2 separate regions of the Homo sapiens genome follow, and region 1 is linked to region 2. Evidence: promoter capture Hi-C in 16 types of primary human blood cells and fetal thymus (Javierre and others, 2016). All regions are on one chromosome and are shown on one strand. Each heading gives the region's core, a stretch centred on a gene start or on the middle of the fragment in contact. The rest is flanking DNA. Distances are from core to core; before and after follow the strand shown. Region 1 overlaps MITF (melanocyte inducing transcription factor). Region 2 holds the start of MITF (melanocyte inducing transcription factor).

The links. Contacts are between HindIII fragments. The CHiCAGO score rates a contact against its expected background, and 5 or more counts as called.
Region 1: a fragment that was not itself captured here is called in contact with the fragment with the promoter of MITF in region 2 in 1 of 17 cell types (M2 macrophages); the score reaches 5.3 in M2 macrophages.

Annotation. Positions count from the first base shown.
Region 1 is chr3:69,906,860-69,910,854 of GRCh38, forward strand. The region is part of intron 2 of MITF (melanocyte inducing transcription factor); the gene reads left to right. Among named protein-coding and RNA genes, the nearest start is that of SAMMSON, 91 kb to the right of the region's middle. The HindIII fragment of the contact is 1,008 bases long and covers 846-1,853 here.
Region 2 is chr3:69,737,905-69,741,675 of GRCh38, forward strand. It overlaps MITF (melanocyte inducing transcription factor), which reads left to right and starts at 1,560. Exons shown (of 10, transcript NM_001354604.2): 1 at 1,560-1,797. The coding sequence starts at 1,694. RefSeq lists a promoter at 1-1,696 and a silencer at 1,496-1,795. The HindIII fragment of the contact is 10,451 bases long and covers 1-3,771 here.

The DNA of each region.
Region 1 (3,995 bases), core at 100-2,599, 170 kb after region 2:
ATAGGAGCTGTCAACGCACTCCCTTTCTGCTTCTTTGACCACACATCTACAACAAAAATAGCAGCTTTTTTTAATTGGCTACTTAATATATGCTGGTCACTCTGCTAAATACTTTATGTAAATTGCCCTATGTGGTACTTACATTGTCCATGTGAGGTAGGCACCATAAATCCTTGTTTTGCCTGAAGAAAGGTTTAACAAGTTACCCAAAGCTACACAACCAGAAGTAATAGAGCTAGTGTTTGATCCTCTCCCCTTTCCCTCCATAATCTTGTGTTCCTAATCGCTATGCTACAGTACCTTTGGTACTAAAGAATGAAAGGGATTCAAACTTGAAATATAACGTAAGTCGTCCATTGAGCTCTGGAACTCCTACTTTCTATGTCCAAAACTTTCCTGTCTATGATTTCTTCTGAATCACTGGATGAAAAAGTCATGTGGGTTTTAGAGATGGGGCTCTGTGTGTCAAACTGGTTGAATAAATAAATGAACGAGTTATTCATTGTATAATTCAGCACAAATCTATTGGATATCTATGTACCAGGCATTGTTATAGGTGCCAGGGATATTGCAGCAGAACAAGCAAATGAACAAACAACTCTTTCTTCATGAAAGTTATATTCTACTGGAGGAGAGACTCATGATGGACAACTTTGAGATCATGTAGATGAAATCACTTCATAAGCAGGAGGTAGTATTCTCCTCAGATCCTGGTCTAATGGCCTGTATTATGGTGCCAAAATTTGTATTTGAAATCACCCTTGATTTCAGGCAGGAGGCCTGACCTGTCTATCCCTGGTAATTTTGAGCACTGTTAAGTCTGGGTAGACCATCTGCTTTACCTAAGCTTAGATCATTGGCTCTCTTTTTCAGTAGTCTGAGGCTTTCCTCAGACCAGTCACCTCTTCACGGACATTTTAAGTGTATGAGGGCTAAGCTCCAAAACACAGTAATTGCTCTTGAGAATAAGCAGTTTTCTCTGTGAACACAAGAAAATCATATTCTGCTGGGCTCAAAGAGAGTTTCTTAAAGTTGACTCAGAAGAGGCTTAAAAACAGTAAGTGTTACAAATGGTTTTTTGAAAGGAAGAGGAAATTATTTATTTATTATTTTAAGAGTTTCATTTCAAGAATGAGGGAAGTAAACCAAAATATCCAGCTTTTTTTGTTGTTGTTTGTTTTGTTTTATTTTTCCCTAAAACTCTTTTGCAGGAAACCTTATGGGGCTTTTGCCTTTTGATCTTGCTATAGAATCTAGATGGATACATGAGACAGAAGGATACAGAAATGTTCTCAAAGTGGTTGGGCCACCCAATTAACTCTAGGGGTGTGATTCAGTTTTGTACCACTTTACATAGTGAGAAAACATTCCAGAAGGAGCTGTGCTCCCCTTGGGTGTAGGAATGTCTCTCCTGGTCTGCAATGCAGTTGAAAAGTGAAGAATAATTTCCATTTTCTGCTTTGTCTATTGAAATAAAAAGACAAAGCAAAAACAATAAAAAAAAAACTCTTCTACATCATTTATCGCTCCTTTATTTGGCAGGAGTTTTCAAACTAATATTTTCTTTTTGTACACCAGCCCCATTTTTTAAAAAGTACTGAGTAGAAGTTTTTTAAATTTGGCAATTCAAAAAATAGTTTTACTTCAACAAACTTAATGAAATCATTATTCTTTAAATATCATATGGAAATAATAGTAAGTTTTTTTTTGTTTCTTTACCACATTGATATTTGTGGTTTGTTTACCACACTGCCATTCAACCTTTGATGAACATGTGGGATGAATGAGCACTACTGGTAATAATGAAATTAGGTACAACTTTCCCATAAGAAAATTTGGCAAAATGCATCAGAAGCTTCAGTGGTTTTTATATCCTTTTATCTGGTAATTCTTCCACTTAGGATTTTTGTTCTTGTTAGAAGAAAGGAATAAGTGACAATCTGAGAATATTTGTCCCTACGTGAGCTAACACAGTCTTTTAAGATTTGTATTAAGGTTAGTTCCTTTGCACCTATCAGTTTTGCTTTTAAGTTGAGATTATTTATGTTTGTTTTATTTATGTGAAATAAGTCCTTAGAAAATATCTTTGATGCTTATAGTTATAGGATATAGTGATTTCCTTTACCAGCTGCTAAGTTCTATTAGGTTTTTTTGTTTGTTTGTTTTTTAAAGACATGGTGATACGGCTTGGCTGTGTCCCCAACCAAATCTCAACTTGAATTGTGTCTCCCAGAATTCCCACATGTTGTGGGAAGGACCCGGGGGGTTGGTAATTGAATCATGAGGGCTGGTCTTTCCCATGTGGTTCTCATGATAGTGAATGGATAAGTCTCACGAGATCTGATGGGTTTATCAGGGGTTTCTGTTTTTGCTTCCTCCTCATTTTCTCTTGCCACCACCATATAAGTGCCTTTTACCTCCTGCCATGATTCTGAGGCCTTCCCAGCCATGTGGAACTGTAAATCCAATTAAACCTCTTTTTCCTCCCAGTCTCAGGTAAGTCTTTATCAGCAGTGTGAAAATGGACTAATAGAGTAAATTGGTACCAGCAGAGTGGGGTGTTGCTGAAACGATACCCAAAAATGTGGAAGCGACTTTGGAATTGTGTAACAGGCATAGGTTGGAACAGTTTGGAGGGCTAGGAAGGAGACAGAAAAATGTGGGAAAGTTTGGAACCTCCAAGACACTTGTTGAATGGCTTTGACTAAAATTCTGATAGTGATATGAACAATAAGGCCCAGGCTGAGGTGGTCTCAGATGGAGATGAGGAACTTGTTGGGAACTGGAGCAAAGGTGACTCTTGTTATGTTTTAGCAAATAGACTGGCAGCATTTTTCCCTGCCCTAGAGATTTGTGGAACTTTGAAACTTGACAGAGATGATTTAGGGTATCTGGCGGAAGAAATTTCTAAGCAGCAAAGTATTCAAAAGGTGACTTTGGGTGCTGTTAAAACCATTCCATTTTAAAAGGAAAACAGAGCATAAAAGTTCAGAAAATTTGCAGCCTGATGATGCAGTAGAAAAGAAAAACCCATTTTTTCAGGAGAAATTCAAGCTGGCTTCAGAAATTTGCATAAGTAGCAAGGAGCCTAATGTTAATCCCCAAGATCATGGGGAAAATGTCTCCAGGCCATGTCAGAGACCTTCATGGCAGCCCTTCCCATCACAGGCCTGGAGGCCCAGGAGGAAAAAGTGGTTCCAAGTGCCATTCCCAGCACAATCCCTGTGCTGTGTGCAGTCTAGGGACTTGGTGCCCTGTGTCCCAGCCTCTCCAACTGTGGCTGAAAGGGGCCAACATAGAGCTTGGGCTATGGCTTCAGAGGTTGGAGGCCCCAAACCTTGGCAGCTTCCATGTGGTGTTGAGCCTGCATGTGCAGAGAAGTCAGGAATTGAGGTTTGGGAACCTTTGTCCAGATTTCAGAAGATGTATGGAAATGCCTGGATGCTCAGGCAAAAGTTTGCTATAGGGGTGGGGCCCTCATGGAGAACCTCTGCTAGGGCAGTGCAGAAGAGAAATGTGGGGTTGGAGCCCCCACATAGAGTCCCTAGTGGGACACTGCCTAGTGGAGCTGTGAGAAGAGGGCCACTATCCTCCATACCCCAGAATGGTAGATCCACTGACAGCGTGAAGTGTGAGCTTGGAAAAACCTCAGACACTCAATGCCAGCCCATGAAAACAGTCAGGAGGGAGGCTCTACCCTGCAAAGCCACAGGGGCAGAGCTGCCCAAGACCATAGGAACCCACCTTTTGCATCAGCATGACCTGGACGTAAGACTTGGAGTCAAAGGAAATCATTTTGGAGCTTTAAAATTTGACTTGACTGCTCCGCTGGATTTCACACTTGCATGGGCCCTGTAACCGCTTTGTTTTGGCCAATTTATCCCATTTGGAACAGCTGTATTTACCCAGTACCTATACCCCCATTGTAGCTAGGAAGTAAGTAGATTGCTTTTGATTTTCCAGGCTCATAGGCAGAAGGGACTTGCCTTGTCCCT
Region 2 (3,771 bases), core at 310-2,809:
TTCTGACATAGTTTAATAGTTTCAGGGGAGGGCCTAAAAGTCGTATGTTGGGGACTAATTTTTATTCTGAAAATTTGGTAATTGCTACTGCAACATAGTGTGCCTTCTGCACTTTTTCCAAATCACCTTGAGAACTCCAGCCCTAACATCGATCCATCCTACTGGATGTCTTTTCTGATGTGAAATTAAAATGTTTCAGTGGGAGGCAAGATATGCAAAGGGGTAACTCCTGGGAGGTGCCCAGTTGTCACTGTAGCCTCTTTAGAATTTTCTCCTAGGACAGTCATTTAGTTTATTAATTCTGAAAGGCCAAACACCAAAATGAGATGTTAATCTGAAAGGAATAACTTCAAGACCTAATAAAGAATGACCACTGAGCAGAGTTTTTATAGATTGCAAATCACTTTCTCTTACATTTGACCTTGCAACATCTTCTAAAACTGGTTTGCCAATCTCTTCTTTTATGGATGAAGAAATGGAGGCTTCTAGGAACCAAGTGACATGCTCAGGATTGCACAGCTCTTCTTAGAAGGACTGGGGATTTCAACTCTGAGTCTTATACCTTTAAATGCCACTGTAACTCTATACTGCCTCCCTGATGCCTCAAAACACTTTTGAAAAGAAGGAACACGTCCTACTGGAGCTAATCAGAGGGAAGAACTAGAAGTACAAATGAGCCACAACGGAGAGTTTTAAAATTCTCTTCCCTAAGTGAGTTCCGGGAAGCTCGGGAAGGGGTGGACACTTGTACAGTTCACTTGTACATCTTCACTCCTGAAATGCTAGGACAAATCTCATTTGAACTCCCAGTCAACTGAGAAATTAAAAGCAGAGAGCAACGACGCTATTTTGTAACTTTGTGCCTTTTAAAATTAACCGAATCTTTCAATTGCTGCTGTAGATTAGAAGTGGCTACTTGGATAAAGGGGAAAGAGCCATTCAACTGATGAATACTATTGTAAAAGTCCAGACTTAGTTCTAGAAAAGGAACGCACAAGAACAATTTCTCCAATAACGTTTTCATTACAGAGCGAAGGAAAGTTCTTCCTCGTTGTTCCAATCCGAGGACAAGCTGATATGTCGCAGCAGCCCAGGGAAGCATGCGAGCTGATAGGAAGTCCTTTTATTTTAAGACAGGCTCGAATGCTAAAACTTTCTTGTGCCAAAACCCTTGACTATTTTATTTTTAAAATAAGCACTTGGCGTGCCCTCGCAGATGTCTGAGCTGAGAGGTCGGGGCGATGGTAGAAGAGCAGTCAGTGTCCATTCTTATTCATATTAAGTAGCCAAGTCTGTACCCTTGAAGCAAGTGGGGAGAGAGGAGGGAGAGGAGCTGCTGACATTGACAATGAATCCAAACAGGAGTTGCACTAGCGGTGTCCACCACGTTGCCTCTCCCCCGCCTGGCCTTCTGGGAGCTGTAGTTTTCGTGGGAGCGGCTCCCCAGGCGAGCTGGGAATGCCCCGCCCGGGCCGAACTACAGATCCCAGGCGGCGCTCGGCCGCCAGCCCCTCCCGCCCGGGTGCGAGTGTAAACTCCCCGCGCTGGGGCGGGCGGCCGCGAGCCGGCGAGCGGGCAGAGCTCGGCACTGCGCCGGGGCGCACGGCTCGGGGGACCCAGGCCCAGCTACCTTCCCTCCGCCCCCGGGCTCTGTTCTCACTTTCCAGCAGTGGAAGGACGGGAAGCGGGAGCCATGCAGTCCGAATCGGGGATCGTGCCGGATTTCGAAGTCGGGGAGGAGTTTCATGAAGAGCCCAAAACCTATTACGAACTCAAAAGTCAACCGCTGAAGAGCAGGTGAGTGGTGACAGCTGGGCAGAGGCGCACCGGGCGGCTGGGGGGCACTGCGTCTGCCACTCTGGGGCGAGGAGAGCGGGTCGCGGGAGCTCTGGGACAAGGACCCAGTGCCCTTGCCCCGGAGCAGAGGGCGAACTGCCCCTCGCAGTTGGGGGCCGCGCCTGCCCGGCCCAAGTGCGCCTTTAGGAAGCTCGGATGGAGCGCACTTCGCGGGGGCGCGGCGGGTCGCCGGGGACGAAGCGTCCAGGCGCGGGGACCCTCGGCCGAGGATGCCAGCTGCTGAGACTGATTGGGGGCTGGGGAGCGACCTGGCGCGATGTGGGGGAGGAGGAGCGCCGGGCCGGGACGCTGTCCCGGTGGGATGGGGGAGAAAGAGTTCTAGTGAACCCCCTTTCTGAAGATCCCAGCGGGTTGAGGGCTCGGAGAGGGAGAGCTTTGGGTGGACTGAGATGCGACATTGGAGGGAAGCAATTAGTTCGCTTGGAGTCACCTCTTGGGAGTCCGGTCTCTGTGGGGAAACTAGCCTCTGGGCTCCTGCAGGTGAGGTTTCTCTGGGCTCCGCCTCTCACCTCCAGACCGCTGCTAGCGGGCGCGGGAGGGGCCAGGGCAGCGGTGGGCGTGTCCCCTTGTTCAAGTTAAACTCTCTGGAAATAGAGTCCCATTCAAATCCAGGCCTTACCTGCAGAGGGGAAATGAGCCTTGGTCTTGGGGGTTACTGGGAGTGTACCCCGCTTGGCAGAGACACGTGTTTAATTCGCTGGGGACTTCAGAAACTTTTTAGACGAGGAGTGAAGACATCCACTGCTCTGATGCCCCATCCCCTCTAGTGCCCACTTCCCTTGAGCCACCCTTTTTGCTGCCTCCATTCCCACTTGTCTGTCGAAATGGATTGGGTGTCTTCCGTTCTCTCTGTCCGGCAGCCACTCTGGACGCCTCGTACTTCTCGTTTACAATGTTTCCTAAAAGGGACATGGTCAATGGAGGCTGGAATAGCTGAGAAGGGTTTATTTCCACCCCTCTAAGCTGTGAGCTAGGATAAGGCTATCATTGGAAGCATCCAGCAGGGCTTCTGCACTCGGCTGTAACTTCCTGCCTTGCCCTTCGCTGTGGATGGGGCCTGGGTGAATGGGCCTGGCTGGCAGAGTGGGAGAGGGTCTTGAAATGAGGGTGAGTGGAGAAGGGCAACTGAACGGGGAGCCAAGTGGTGTAATCTTGGCCTCTGGCGAGCACTGGGCTGGTTCTTTTTCTAGTGGAAAGTGCAGCCAGGTTTATTTCCTTCAGGGCTGTGGCAGGACTCTTTATCCAAGTTGGGGAAGAAAATCTGGGAACAGCGGTCCTACTGACTGCCATTGCTGAAGACTCTTTGTAGATGCTTCACGGCAGATTGGAAGGAAACCGCCTAAGCAGTTGGACGTATAAAACCAGCCTTTAGTTGGTGGTTTTTCCTCATAATGGCTGTTTTGTGTGTGAGCATAGATTGTGTGTGTTGGGGGCTGGGGGTTTTGAGTAATATTGTGTGAAGGGTATTGTTGGTTATGCTCATCAGGGCTTTATCTGCATTCGGCTGAAGGGACCAGTGTTTTACTGGGCAGTCTCTGCTTTTGCTTCTATAAGCAAATGCTTACACGGCCAGAATGAGGGAATGAGTGTGTGTGTGGAATCCTGAAAGAAATAAATTAACCGGACTGTTTGGAACATTTCTGATGGTAGCTGATACATAACATTAAATCAGTTTGAGAGAGCGAGGAAAATACCATCTGGAAAAACCCAAATGAGTGCCGTGAAACTCATGTTGCACGATTTGGGCCTGTTCTTTTTCAGAGTCAGCAAAAAAGACTTGTAAGGGTGAACGTCCTCAGTAGCTAGCTAGCAGGCACGTGTAAGGGAAAATGTGGGTATGTGGGAAGAAATGGCTTCACACGTTAATGCTAGAAACAGGTGTGGGCCTGAACCAGCAGGGAAAGGAAGGCTAAA